Regions from separate parts of the Homo sapiens genome. Here all the other regions are linked to region 4. The links are contacts of gene promoters, found by promoter capture Hi-C in blood cells and fetal thymus (Javierre and others, 2016). All regions are on one chromosome and are shown on one strand. The core of a region is centred on a gene start or on the middle of the fragment in contact, and the rest is flanking DNA. Distances in the headings are between cores, read along the strand shown. Region 1 overlaps HIVEP3 (HIVEP zinc finger 3). Region 2 overlaps HIVEP3 (HIVEP zinc finger 3). Region 3 overlaps HIVEP3 (HIVEP zinc finger 3). Region 4 holds the start of GUCA2B (guanylate cyclase activator 2B).

Region 1 (3,008 bases), core at 474-2,973, 580 kb before region 4:
AGTGAGTTCTGAGATCTGGTTGTTTAAAACTTGTGTGACACATCCCTCCCGCTCTTGCTCCTGCTCCAGCCATGTAAGAAGCACCTGCTTCCCCTTCACCTCCTGCCATGATTGAAAGTTTCCTGAGGCCTCCCCAGAAGCCGAGCAGATGCCAGGAGCATGCTTCCTGTATAGCCTGCAGAACCATGAGCCAATTAAACCTCTTTTCTTTATAAATTTCCCAGTCTTCAGTATTTCTTTATAGCAATGCAAGAACTGACTACTATACCCATCTTTGACCACTTAAAAGACTTTAAAGAGATATAAAGCAAGTGTGGGTAATGGGCACAGTTTGTCTACCTATGTTATACATTTCCCAACCTCCACGCCACCAACCCTCCTGTGGTATGTGGTTTTGCTACTGTTTAGGTTCTTAGAGTGGCTTACTGACTTTATTTTTTACACACCTATCCAAAAGGCTCCAACTTATTACCACTTATTTAATTCATAGTTTAATCAATTTGTTCCCCAATAAATACACAGAGGTAACACATATTCCCAAAGACATAATTCTAAATCTGGAGTTCACAGCAAAATGGGACTAGGCACAGCAGATGATTAGGCTGAAAATCATGCTACACTTCTGGGTTTCAAAGTCCAAGAAGAAATGGATTTGTAAAAAAACTATTAGAAAAGAAAATAATCTTTAGATTTTTTAAAACTAACACTATTCTCTCCAAGCTACTATTTCATGAAACACACAGGTATGTGTGCACATACACAGGCACACACACACACACTTCAAAATGTACAAATGCACTGTCACAAAAACGTGCTGCGTACACTGCATGAACTCTTAAGACTTGGATAAAAATTAATTCAGCTATAGAAATAGATGAGATAGAAAAGTACACTCGTTAAAAATGTAACCCCTTCAACTGGAACAGTAATGAATTAAATAAACTTTTAAAATAATTTCTTTAAGGAATGTCAAAGAGGCCTGAGACACAGTTCTGCAGTATGCGCTGTGCTGTGGACAAAGGGTGGGTTCACTGATGTGCAGGTGGACCGCCTCCCAGATACGAAGTTGGATGCATGACCCGGAGTTCAGAGGAGAAGTCCTTGGAGATAGGGATCTGAGTGTCATCAACCTGTAGATGGTGTATAGATCACGTTGGGACTGAGTTTAGAGGAAGAGCACGGAGCCTGGGGCTGGGCCATGTGGAGCCCTAATGTTCAGAGATCAGGCGATGATGGGACTCACTGAAGATGGTGAGAAAGTGTAACCAGTCAAGGAAGAGGAGGATCAAGAAAGAAGGTGATAGGGTTTGTCTGTGTCCCCACCCAAAATCTCATTTGAATTGTAATCCCTATAATCCCCATGTGTCAAGGGAGAGACCAGGTGGAGGAATTGAATCATGGGGGCAGTTTCCCCTATACCATTCTGGTGACAGTGCATGAGTTCTCATGAAACCTGATGGTTTCATAAGCGTTTGGTAGTTCCTCCTGCATGCATTTTTCCTTCCTGCCACCTTGCGAAGAAGGTGCCTTGCTTCCCCTTCACCTTCCACCATGATTGTAAGTTTCCTGAGGTCTCCCCAGCCATGTGAATGAGTCAATTAAACCTCTTTTCTTTATAAATTACCCAGTCTTGGGCAGTTCTTTATAGCAGTGTGAAAACAGACTAATACAGGCAGTGTCCAGGAAACCAAGAGGACAAAGTCCTGCATGGACGAGCGAAGGATTGACTGTGTCAAATGCTGCCGATGGCTCAGGAAAGAATAGAAGTGAGAACTGACTACTGACTTCTGCAAGGTGAGGGTCATCATTGACTTGGATAAGAGCAGCTTCTGAGGTGTGAGGAGCCCAAAGGCCCACCTTGAATAGGTCTGAGAGAAGCCAGGAGGAAAGATACGGAGGTGAGCAACACAGTCACCTTCTTCTGGAGTTTTTCTTTAAAGGAAACAGAGAAATCTGGCAATATGGCCCTTCAGCCAAAGTATTTTTAAGGTGGAAACCTTAAGTCTGGGTATGCTTAAGGAGCACTCTCCTGGCCCAGGAGAGTGGCAATGGCTGGAGTGAGGTACTGGGGTAGGTGAGGTGGGATGGGAGCCAATGCCCTCCCATAGGAGGTGCAGCAGCTGAGTCCTGCAGCACGCAGGGTCTGGCATGGACTCCTGGGATCTCACCATCTGAACTTATCATTCCCTTCGGACATAAGCCCCAATAACACACCACCCAACTGGGCTTGGTCAGCCAGGTGGTTCCTATCAATTCCAGTCTCTTCCTCTTCCGTGTAAGCCCACTGGGCTGAATTCCCAGCTTTCCTTGCAATAAGTGAACTTGAGTTAAGACAATATAGTCATTACTCTCAAGGAACAACATAACTTTGTGTGTGTGAAAACAACACTGCTTAACAAAAAGCCATTCTAAACAACCAAGGCAAATGCACAGGTGCTGGGTGAGAGAGCCATCACATCCCTGATGGGCACTCCCAGGGGCTGCCTGGAAAATGCGGGCTTTGTTCAGGTGTGGAAGTGATGGGGAATGCAGAGGGGGCCATGTGCCAGGAAACTAGTGCAATAAACAGAGACTGATGCATTGTGTGTGCAAAGCATTACCCCAGGACCCAAGTCAAGAAGGGACTTGGGAGGAGACAGAAATGGATCTTAGCACCAGTGTTATGACAGAAGTAACACAAAGAACTACAGAGTGTGGAGGGATTTGGGAGGCTCGTTAGAGGAGCAGGGCTGAGTATTGGCTTTTGAAGGCTGGGTAGGATTTGGCAATGGCAGGGCCCAGCAGGCAGCAAAAGGTGAAGGGCGACAGGAACAGGTCAGATTCTGAGGCCAGCACTCACAGGCTGAGTTTAAACTGGATCCTGTAGGTGAGGCAGCCACAGACGGCTCTGGAGAAAAGCATGACACAGGCAGAATCATGTTTAGTGATGCTCAGTGGCACCAACTTTGGAGTTCTAGAGATAGGGTGGCCAGAGCAGTGGCAGAGGGAGTAAAGAGACCACACTGAGT
Region 2 (3,095 bases), core at 109-2,608, 560 kb before region 4:
AACAACAGGAATAAACAAAGACAGTCCCAGGCAAACCAGGACAAAATGGTTACCCTTACAATTAATATTTGCCTTACGGCCAAAACTAGGCATAAGTGCCAACTGTCTCTGGGTGTCTCATACATACTTTTGATCTCTTCTATGGAGACTAAAGTTACACCGTGATCTTCTGATAGATTCTTAGAGACTGACTGTCTAGTCCATTCCTCTCACTTGACAGAAGAGACTGAAGGCTAGAAAGGTGATATGATTTTCCCTGAAAATCACACGGGAATGGTGGCAGGACTGGACCATCCTGTGCCTCTTGACCCCCCAGCCAGGACTGTCTCCCACCTCAATTAATAGAAGTTCTCTGTGGCTTCTGTGGCATGATGCGCACTGCAGTCTATGGCCCCTAGTCCTATGGAAGCACCGGCATGGCCCCAGGGGACATCGCTGTATCCACGGCAAGAGGGAGTAAGGAATTGTCTAGCATCTGAACAATAGAGTTGCCCTTTCAACCTATGTCCTAACCACACTGCAGCTGCTGGACAGAAGAAAGGGGAGCCCAGCAAAGGTCGGGGAACTCGTCCTGGCAGCCTTACCCCAGGTCTTGCTTACCTAAGCTAAGGCGGGCAGAAGTGCTGAGCCTTCTAAAAATCAGACATGGTAGACATGGTTTGCAGCACAGAGAGAACTGCTCTTTGGGCTGGGCTGGGCCTCCTCAGCCTGGCTGCACTGTGATGGAGAGGCCTTTGGGTGCTATGTGTGGATAATCAAGGGTTGGCTATACTTACTATTCTTATTGATCCTTTCATGCAAGGATCTGAGAGCAGCCCCAAAACACCAGCTAGTGGTAAGCTTTGCTTCTTCCGATGGATGGATGGGACCCTGCAGCATGACTGGGTGGTGAAATGATCAATCTGAGTGGGGGTCAGCTGGCCAGGCAGGACTCTACATTGCTTAGTCCTGCCTTCTCCCCTCACTGAGCCACAAGGCTCTCCTTGGCAGGTGGTGGAGCGCCCAGCAGCTGGGGTTTGGTGCAATTCCCAGGGCCAGGTGGGAGGGGCAGGGTAGATGAAGGAGACAGTCAGATGACTGCTGCATCATCAGATGACTACAGGGCCAGCACTGCCTGCCCAGGGTCAGTGTCCAGCCTGCACCTGTGGGCTGGACATGGTGTTTCTCCAAGCAGAGGCCTCCTACCCACACTTCTGAGTGGGGAGCAAAAAGGCCACAGGAGCACCGTTGGCTGCCAGGGCGCAGAGTGAGCGAGGCCTGTGAGCTGGAGGGGCCACCCTGTCATTCTGCACAACAGGCATCTGAGCCATGGTGGAGGGTGGCTAGCCCAAGCCACACTGGGGCTTGGACTTCTGGACTAGTGCTCTCTGCCAGCCTGCTCTACCACACCATGACAGGTCTGAAGTGCTTAAGAGGAGGGGCAGGGGGAGAAGGGCAGCCAGGACCACAGGTGCAGATGTAGGGGAACCTGCAGGACCTAAGGAGACTTCTGTCTTGGAATGGATTCCAAATGTGGTGCGGCATAAACCGAAGGACCGTTCTAATGACTGTGACCAACAGACACTAAGAAAATGGTTCTTTTCTACCTTCTGTGGTTCTGAGGGTATGTGTGAAATTTTAACACAAACTTGAAGTGATAAAGAAAAGAGCCACTTTTCCAGGGAATTGGTGAGAGCACCTGTAAAAGTCACCAGAGAAATGGGCCCAGGAGCTGGGCCAACAGAGGCCTGAACCCCAGACCAGAAGAGGATGGACAGCCTCTACTGATGGTCACAGAATGGGCCATGAGGCCAGTGAGAGCTCTCGCTCAGAGACCAGCTTATAACCCTGAGGGGAACCTGAGCTTCAGCAGCCAACTGGTTAGCTCCCACTTCAAGAAGCTTCCTTTGGTCTAGCTGTGGGAGCAGCCCAATAGGAAGGAGATCGGGACTTGCTGGGGTTGGAGCCACAAAAGCCTCAGGGGAGTGGGAAGTAATGGAGGAGCCCGGGGCCAAGGCAGGGAGGCCTGAAGCTCTGGAACCAAACTGGAAAGCACCTTCTGTATCGAAGGCGTCAGGACAACATGACCATGGCCCAGGGTGGACACCCCAGAGGACATTTCCAGAGGGCAGGTGGGAGATGGGCTCTCTCAGGTAGACAATTCCACCAGTCCTGGCAGGAGGCCAGCTTGAATCTGCCTTGGGCTCTAGACTGAGGAGCTGGGGTCCCCGGTCAAAGTTAGATAAGGCTGGGGCAAGATAGGGGCAGGGGCCTGATGTCCAAGGAGCTGTTAGGCTAAGCTGGCCCCAGGCTGGTGGGGCTTAATACAGCTCTTTGCTTGTAATTTACTTACACACACACACCCCCACATATCCCAACATGCCAAAATCTGGTCAAAAATTTTACTGGCAGTAATAAAACATACTGATGTCAAAAATATAAGAAAACTTTCCTATTAACTTTAATACCTGGGAACCCAGGGCACAAGGCCACAGGCTGAAGAGGAGGCACTCAGTAAATATTCTTATTTAATGACCTAGCAACAAAGCCAGTGCCCCTTCTAAAAATCTCTGTGTACAACACTCTGTGTGTGTGCATGTATGCATGTGTGTGTTTAAGCTGGAGCAGAATTCTTCACTTGCAAAAAAATACTAAAAGTGGCTGTGGGCTCAGGTGGTGGCAAAACAAGCCAGATATAAGCATATGGGTCTGGAGACTAACAGGGATTGGTAGTCAAAGAGTCACAGAAGGATGTCTGGGCAAAGAGAGAGGCCAAGGTCAAGGCGGAGCTCTGGCTGGGAACAGGGATTGTGGCAGAGACTGAATATTTCTTCCATTAGCCAGTTCTCTTTCTTGTAGTAATCAAAGGCCCCCAAGCTGGGTCTATGGCCACCAGCTAGAGGCTGCCTTTCCCAGCCTCTCTTGCAGCTAGTTCTGGCCAATGATGTATGCAACTTCTAGGCCACAGCCAGAAGGAAAAGTGCTTGCCCTCCACCTCTCCATTTTGTCAGGAAGGAACATGGATGTGGTGGGGGTGAGCCAACTGTGACCACATGGACAAGAACATCACCCCAAGGAACAGTGGGACAAGAAGACAAGAAGACAGTGTGAAGCAA
Region 3 (3,327 bases), core at 559-3,058, 610 kb before region 4:
ACCACTGTCTCAGCCTCCTGGGAGGTAGCTCAGCCAAAAGGCAGAACCAGGCATGGAGGAAGATCCGGGCTCCCTTTAAGAAAGAGTTTTCTGACCCCAGGGCTACAAACTTGGAAAAAAGCAAGCCTGAATGGTAGTGAGCTCCCCAACAGGTCTAGTATTCAAGCCCAGATTAAATGACAATGTAAGTCTGGGGCAAAATAGATTCTAATGGTAGGAGCTGGGCTGGACTCCAGGTCCAGCGGGTTTAGCTGGACTCTAAATGGACACTGCAACCACACTGGTGCTCCAGACATAAACAGCCAGTAGGTGAGTGGGTGGGAAAACAGGAAGGAAGGGAGGGTGTGGTCACGGCTCAGAGGACTGAGGTGGCCTGTCTGATTAGGACGCTGCGAGTGCAGTGGTTAGGCATGGGGTGTTGATGCATCAGACTGCCGAGTTCAAATCCTGCCTCCTCCGACCAGCTGTGTGATCCTGAGCAAGCACCCGCCCATGGAGGGTGTGCTGATGCTGCCCAGAGGAGACCAGCTATGGCTGTGGCTGTGGGATGGTTTTACTATTACACCTCCCAGCTGTTATTCTCAGACTGAGCCACCTCTTCCAATGAAAGCCCTATTTCTCTAATCCACTCTATGGAAATGTGACTTTCCCAACTCAAAGTGGGTTTTCCTTGCAGCGAGCTATTTAGGGATGCCTGTTGTGAGTCCTTTTGTGGAAGGAAGAATCCCTTTGTGAGCCCCATGGCTGCCCTCCAGTGACTGGTGAGTCTGTGTGTTGTGGCCGTGACAGGCTGTCCACATCGCCTCCCTCCTGAATCCCCACAGCAGATCTGCAGGCCTCTCAGCAGATCACCCTGCCTGGAATGCTCTCCTTCCCTCTTTCTGATGAAGCTCCAGTTCTCCCCTGAGCTCAGATCCAACCCCAGCTTCTCAGAAGCTTCCCCTGACCCTGAGATGGGTCATGCTCTCCAGGTCCACCTTTTCTATGGGCAGTAGAAAACAGAGCTGGGCTTACCAGACAGAACTCCTGAGGCGGAAACCAGCCTCTGTCCCTTATTAGCTGTGTGACCTTGGGCAGGTTACTTAACCTCTCTGTGCCTCAGTTTCTTCATCTGTAAAATAGGGATAATGTCCTATTTCTTGACCTGTGGGTAACTGGGCACAATTCCATAGGTATGTTCACTCTGTAATAACTCATGGTTGTATACTTATGACTTGGATTGTTTTTTGTATGTATGATCTGTTTCAATTAGAAAATTACTACAAAATAATAGCATATGCTCCAAGAGGTGTTGCACATTTTACTTAGTTAATATAGGTTATGTGCTTGGAAGAGTGCCTAGCACCGAGTGGGGCTCAATCAGTATTTGCTGTATCTGGCACTCTGCCTTGATAGCACTCATTACAGTCAGATTCATTCTTCAATAGTGGAAGGAAAACCAAGTGCCCCAGATTTCAATAGGTTCAGAAGCCTGGAGATGTCTCCCTCACCCACCTCAAAAGCGAAGCTAATGGTTTCGTGCTAAGAGGCTGGCTCAACTGTCTAGCCCTGGCAATATTGGGACCAGTTGATGGAGTAAGAAGTCACGATGGAGTCTCTCTACCATCTCCTCCTTCTCTCCAGCCATGGCCAGGTTTGCGGAGGAATCCATAACATGCTGATGGGGATACAGAAGCCCTTGGAAGCTCTCCAAGATCACAGCCAAGGGGACCATGAACTTCCCAGGACCCCCCCGCTGGAGGATGATGGAAATGACCACACTCATGCCAGGATGGGGTCCGAGGCGCAGGAAGCTCCTCACAGAGAAGATTCCTTTGTGCCCATCTCTCCTGATGAGAGTCTTGTCCCCAGGAAGGTCAATATTCCGATGAAGTAGAAGAGGAGCAGCATGAGGAAGAGGAAGATGATGAAGGTGACGAGGATGTAGAGGAAAGAGAGGATGCAGACAGAAACATCGTCACAGAGCCACAGTATCCTGCAGAGGCAGAGGCAGTGCAAGGGGATGATGGCAGGGAACAAATTCCAGGGATGAAGACAGAGCCGCCAACATGGAATGTGAAGCATTTCAGCTTCCAAACTTTGACACTGAATACAGTGCTGAAGAGCAGGCTTCAGTTCCTCCTATGACACATGATCCGTATGACACGGAGCTTGAACCACTCTTCCACTTTTAAAATGGCTATCAGTGGGATGCAGGATCATGGTCCAGATTAACAATACGCAGGGGGCAATAAAAGCCTCAGGAAAGTTAACCTAACTGTTAGGTTTCTATCGGGATAACGGAGGCGCAAAATGGGTGACATGTTTAGAAGAAACTCCAAGATGAAGAATAAAGGGGTTTGCTTATCTGCACTTGACAAACATGAAGCAGGAATCCCTTGGTGAGATGGTAGGCTGGACCATGCGCACTATAGATCTGTAAGTAGCCCCTCACCTACCCGCTGCCTTAAATGTCTGACCACTCAAAGTGGGGGCCAAATTAGTGTCCTCACCAGCAGAAAGTGGGGTCGAGGAGTCAAGGCACAGCCACGAGCTGGCGTGATTCAGCTCCTGCTCCTGCCTGCTGATCCTGTCTCATCTTCCCTTCAGTTCAAAGTACTTAATGGTTTGGGCAGTTCTTAGCATGACAGATGGACAGATGGTTTTCACGGAGGTAGGCAGGGTGAAAAATGTGGTTCTGAAAAGCTTCCAGAGCTTGTATGTAAAGATCAGACTGTGAGAGTTGTCACTGCTGGCCCGGCTATCCCTCAGGAAAGCCATTTCTATGAAAACTTGTCAGAGATTAAAGGAGGTGGTAACCAGTTAGCAGAGAACACTTTGTCTCTTCCCAGTCACATGTGGGTAACTGGCTGTGTAACCTAGGCCCAGGCCCTTGCCCTCTCTGGTCTCCAGCCACCTCACTGACTCTACAAGGCCTCATAGCTCCAGGGGGTGAGCATAGACCCCTCAACACCTGGGGGCTCCTTATTTAGGTCCTTCCTGGTGTATCCATATTGAGACTGGGGCTAGACCCTCTTGAGAGCTGCACAGTGAACCTGACCACAACCCAGATGCTGGAAACGAGAAAGCAAGATCAGAATAGGGAAATGAGGTGGAGGCTGCTATAGACGTGGCTCTTTGGTCTCCTCCAATGTAAGCGCAGGGGAAGTGGAGATGCTTCTTCGCCGTGTTGAAAGTTTTTCGTTGACTGGGATCAGCACCTCCTACAATGGTCCAATCTCCTGCTCAGTCTTTGTCATGCTGTTCTCCTCAGGCCTTCATATCTTGGAGCTGGTGGCCTTGCTGTTGTTCATTCCAGTCATAAGGGCTCCTCCTGGTGCTGCAAGC
Region 4 (3,212 bases), core at 223-2,722:
TGCACAGTATTCAAGAAATGAGAGCTATTATTCCCAGATGGTTGTTTTCATTTTACAGATTAGAGGGCATGTAAGATTCCCTTCATTTCCATAGACTCTAAAGAGCAAAGGCTGAAGTCTGGATTCAAAGCAATACATAAGAAATTCCAAAGTTCACTTGAGCTTCTTCTTCATTTCAGTCTGAGATAAGAAAAAGGAAGATGGCATTTCAGGCAGGTGGAATGAGTAGGCAAAGACATGAGATGGGATTAGACCTGTGCAAATAGGGTTGGTATGGGGAAGCACGATGACATCAGATTTTAGCCACTTTTGGGAGTGGCATCTTAAATGCCAAGGTGAGCTATCAGGGCTTCAATCCAACGTTCAGGCTCAATGTCAGGGGAGCCTGCCACATGCCAGAGTCTGTGCCTGGCAGAGCTGAGCCCTGGCACACGCACTGTTTACAGCTGCCTGGTATGGCAGTGGTGATATCACCCTTAGAGACTTTGCCCTCTTCTCTCTGACCCAACCTTCAACCACTGGGGCAGTAGGTTATGCATTGCCTAGAAGGCAACTGTAAGATTCAGGGGCTGCTATGGATGCATTACCCAGGAGATAAGGGCAACCTCAGGTGGGCCGGGGCCCTCACAGCAACCTTACGAGAGGGGTTGTATCATGCCCATTTGATGGAAGAGAAAACTAAGATTCCATTAGAATTGATGTGACGTATCCTAAATCACACAGCTGCAGCAGGACTAGGATTTGAATGCGGGTCAATCTGCCTCCAACACTACTGCCTTTTCCTCCATGCTGGATTAGGCTATTGGCTTCTGAAAGCACAGACAGGTGAGATGGGTCAAACATGGCCTGAAGCACCCAGGCACAGGTGGGAGATGGCAAGCAGAGGCAGGTTCAAAACGTGGGGCCAGGACTGGTCTGAAAGATAGTCGTTAAATAGCACTGAGGAGAGGGAGTGAGAGAGATGTGGGTCTTGGGGGAGTGGGGTCTTGAGAACCCTGAAATCAGCAGTGTCTGCCCACTTTGCCCTGGACCAGCCTCTCTGTCTGTATCCTTCCCCCAGAGAAAGGACCATGGGCTGACCTGGGCCAAGGACACCTGGCTGGAGCCCCTTCTCTGACATTAACTAGCTCCGTGACCTGGGGAAAGCCACCCTCCCTCCTGAGCCTCACTTTTCCTGTCTGTAAAATGGCCTCCCCGTCATCACACCCACACAGGTGTCTTGAGGAGTGAATGATGGTGTGCTCCAAGGCCCCCATGGAGAGCCCGGCACATGGCAGGCACTCGGTGTTCAAGCACTGTGTTCCCATAGACTCTGGGCTCCTGCCCTCCTCGCCCCCAACCCCCTTCCTAGGAACCAGCCCCGGCTTGTCAGAGAGCCAGCTAGCTGTCAACCCCACCCCAGCTGGCCAGTTAATGAGTGACCAGGACTCCTGAGCCTGACCTATAAGGAGGTGCTAGGCAGGGACACAGATGGGAGACGGTGGACAGCGGCAGGGGGAACCCAGGGAGCGCGATGGGCTGCAGGGCTGCATCAGGGCTCCTGCCAGGAGTGGCCGTGGTCCTCCTGCTGCTGCTGCAGAGCACACAGTCAGTCTACATCCAGGTGAGTCCCTTGGCCAGCGTTCCCTTTGCCTGAAGGGCCCCATGGTGGGAGGCTAGGCTGGAGAGGGTGTACTGGGAATTCAGAGGGGCACCGGGGGAGCACGGGGCCCGGGGCTCAGCCCAACACCCATCACAGCCCAGAGACCAAGGCAGCTGGTGGGTGGGGGCAGCCAGATGTTGATGGCAGTGATGATGGCAATGACAACACCAAACTGATTCAGCGCTGCTCCCCTCAAAGGCCCGTGCTGGTCACAGAGGTCAGGGTGTGGAACAGAAGGCTCCTCCTTGCATGGGAGGAGGCCAGAAAGGGAAGGAGACACCCTGTTATGCTCCCACAGTTCCGTATATTCACCCACATGTAGGTGGAGGAGGACAGGCTCCAGAAAAATTTTCCTGAGAAGTAACCCTTGAGCTGGCATTGCAAGATGAACAGGAGGTTGCCAGACACAGATGATGGGGAAACTGTTCCAGGCCAAGGGGCACAGCATGTGCAAAGACCAGATAGAAGACTATGGGGGTTCCAGTGCCCTTCCAGGGGGCATGGGAGAGTGGCAGTAGTCGTCACAGCAGGGCCTGTCTGCCACGTCACAGGGGATGCTGCTGGCCTCGCCCAGCATAGCAGAGACGTCTGTGGCCCTGGGTGTCACATCCCTGACTCTGGGCATGGTCTCCTTGGGAAGAACAAAGTGGGTCCCAGAGAGGGGTGCAGGAGACTTGGCCTCCCCAACAGCCCTGGCCTCAGAGACCAGCTACTTGGGGCTGCCATCACTCTGCCATGTGAGCTCAGGCAGGCGTACTCAGTTAGTGATTGTGCCCTGGTACCAGGCCCCCACGGGAGATGTCAGATGAGGGAACTGAGGCTGAGTGGGGAACAGACAGGCAGCCGGTCATGGGCAGAGGTGGGATTTGAACCAGGGCTTGTCTGTCTCTAAAGCCTCGAACCACTGTGCTCCACAGCCCCGCTGCTTCTTCCTCACACCTCTCACCGCAGCGGCTCTTTCCAGTGTGGCCCTGGACTTCCCATAGAGACGGGGAAGGCTCTGGAGGATCTGCAGGGTTTGAGCAACCCTGGGTGTCATGGCAGTGCCTGCCCCTGGACCAGGTCTTGACCTGCTCCTATCTCCTCTCCCCTGTCTGTAGTACCAAGGCTTCCGGGTCCAGCTGGAATCCATGAAGAAGCTGAGTGACCTGGAGGCACAGTGGGCACCCAGCCCCCGCCTGCAGGCCCAGAGCCTCCTGCCCGCCGTGTGCCACCACCCTGCTCTGCCTCAGGACCTTCAGCCTGTCTGCGCCTCGCAGGAGGCTTCCAGCATCTTCAAGACCCTGAGTAAGTGCCCCCGCTCCCTGCAGAACCTCGCTCTGTCTCCTCCCACGCCCAGGCTCCTCCACCTGGGTTGTTTCTCTTAAGCACCCAGCGGCTGAGGATGGGGAGATTCAAGTAACTCAGGCCCTGTCCCACTGGCTCCCAGGACTCCCCGGTTTGGGCACTGTGAGTCAGGCATGCCTGGAACCTGCTTCGTCCCCTTAGTCCACGCCAGGCACAGACCCATCAACAGACAATGGCTGCGTGGAGCAGAGAGGAGAGCTGGCTGACATCTGCGATGGGACAG

Evidence for each region. Contacts are between HindIII fragments. The CHiCAGO score rates a contact against its expected background, and 5 or more counts as called.
Region 1: a contact is called between a fragment that was not itself captured here and the fragment with the promoter of GUCA2B in region 4, in 14 of 17 cell types (total CD8 T cells, total CD4 T cells, neutrophils and 11 more). The highest score is 15.2, in total CD8 T cells.
Region 2: a contact is called between a fragment that was not itself captured here and the fragment with the promoter of GUCA2B in region 4, in 3 of 17 cell types (naive CD4 T cells, total CD4 T cells and total CD8 T cells). The highest score is 7.7, in naive CD4 T cells.
Region 3: a contact is called between a fragment that was not itself captured here and the fragment with the promoter of GUCA2B in region 4, in 4 of 17 cell types (activated CD4 T cells, total CD4 T cells, neutrophils and 1 more). The highest score is 6.0, in activated CD4 T cells.

What each region holds. Positions count from the first base shown.
Region 1 is chr1:41,568,970-41,571,977 of GRCh38, forward strand. All of the region lies in intron 5 of HIVEP3 (HIVEP zinc finger 3), which reads right to left. Among named protein-coding and RNA genes, the nearest start is that of EDN2, 86 kb to the left of the region's middle. The HindIII fragment of the contact is 4,646 bases long and covers 1-3,008 here.
Region 2 is chr1:41,587,484-41,590,578 of GRCh38, forward strand. The region is part of intron 3 of HIVEP3 (HIVEP zinc finger 3); the gene reads right to left. All of the region lies in intron 1 of LOC128125817, which reads right to left. Among named protein-coding and RNA genes, the nearest start is that of EDN2, 100 kb to the left of the region's middle. The HindIII fragment of the contact is 1,040 bases long and covers 839-1,878 here.
Region 3 is chr1:41,540,673-41,543,999 of GRCh38, forward strand. The region is part of intron 5 of HIVEP3 (HIVEP zinc finger 3); the gene reads right to left. It also overlaps the pseudogene LOC100418723. Among named protein-coding and RNA genes, the nearest start is that of EDN2, 58 kb to the left of the region's middle. RefSeq lists a silencer at 288-502. The HindIII fragment of the contact is 1,749 bases long and covers 935-2,683 here.
Region 4 is chr1:42,151,938-42,155,149 of GRCh38, forward strand. GUCA2B (guanylate cyclase activator 2B) reads left to right here and starts at 1,473. Exons shown (of 3, transcript NM_007102.3): 1 at 1,473-1,603; 2 at 2,743-2,929. The coding sequence starts at 1,514. The HindIII fragment of the contact is 11,651 bases long and covers 1-3,212 here.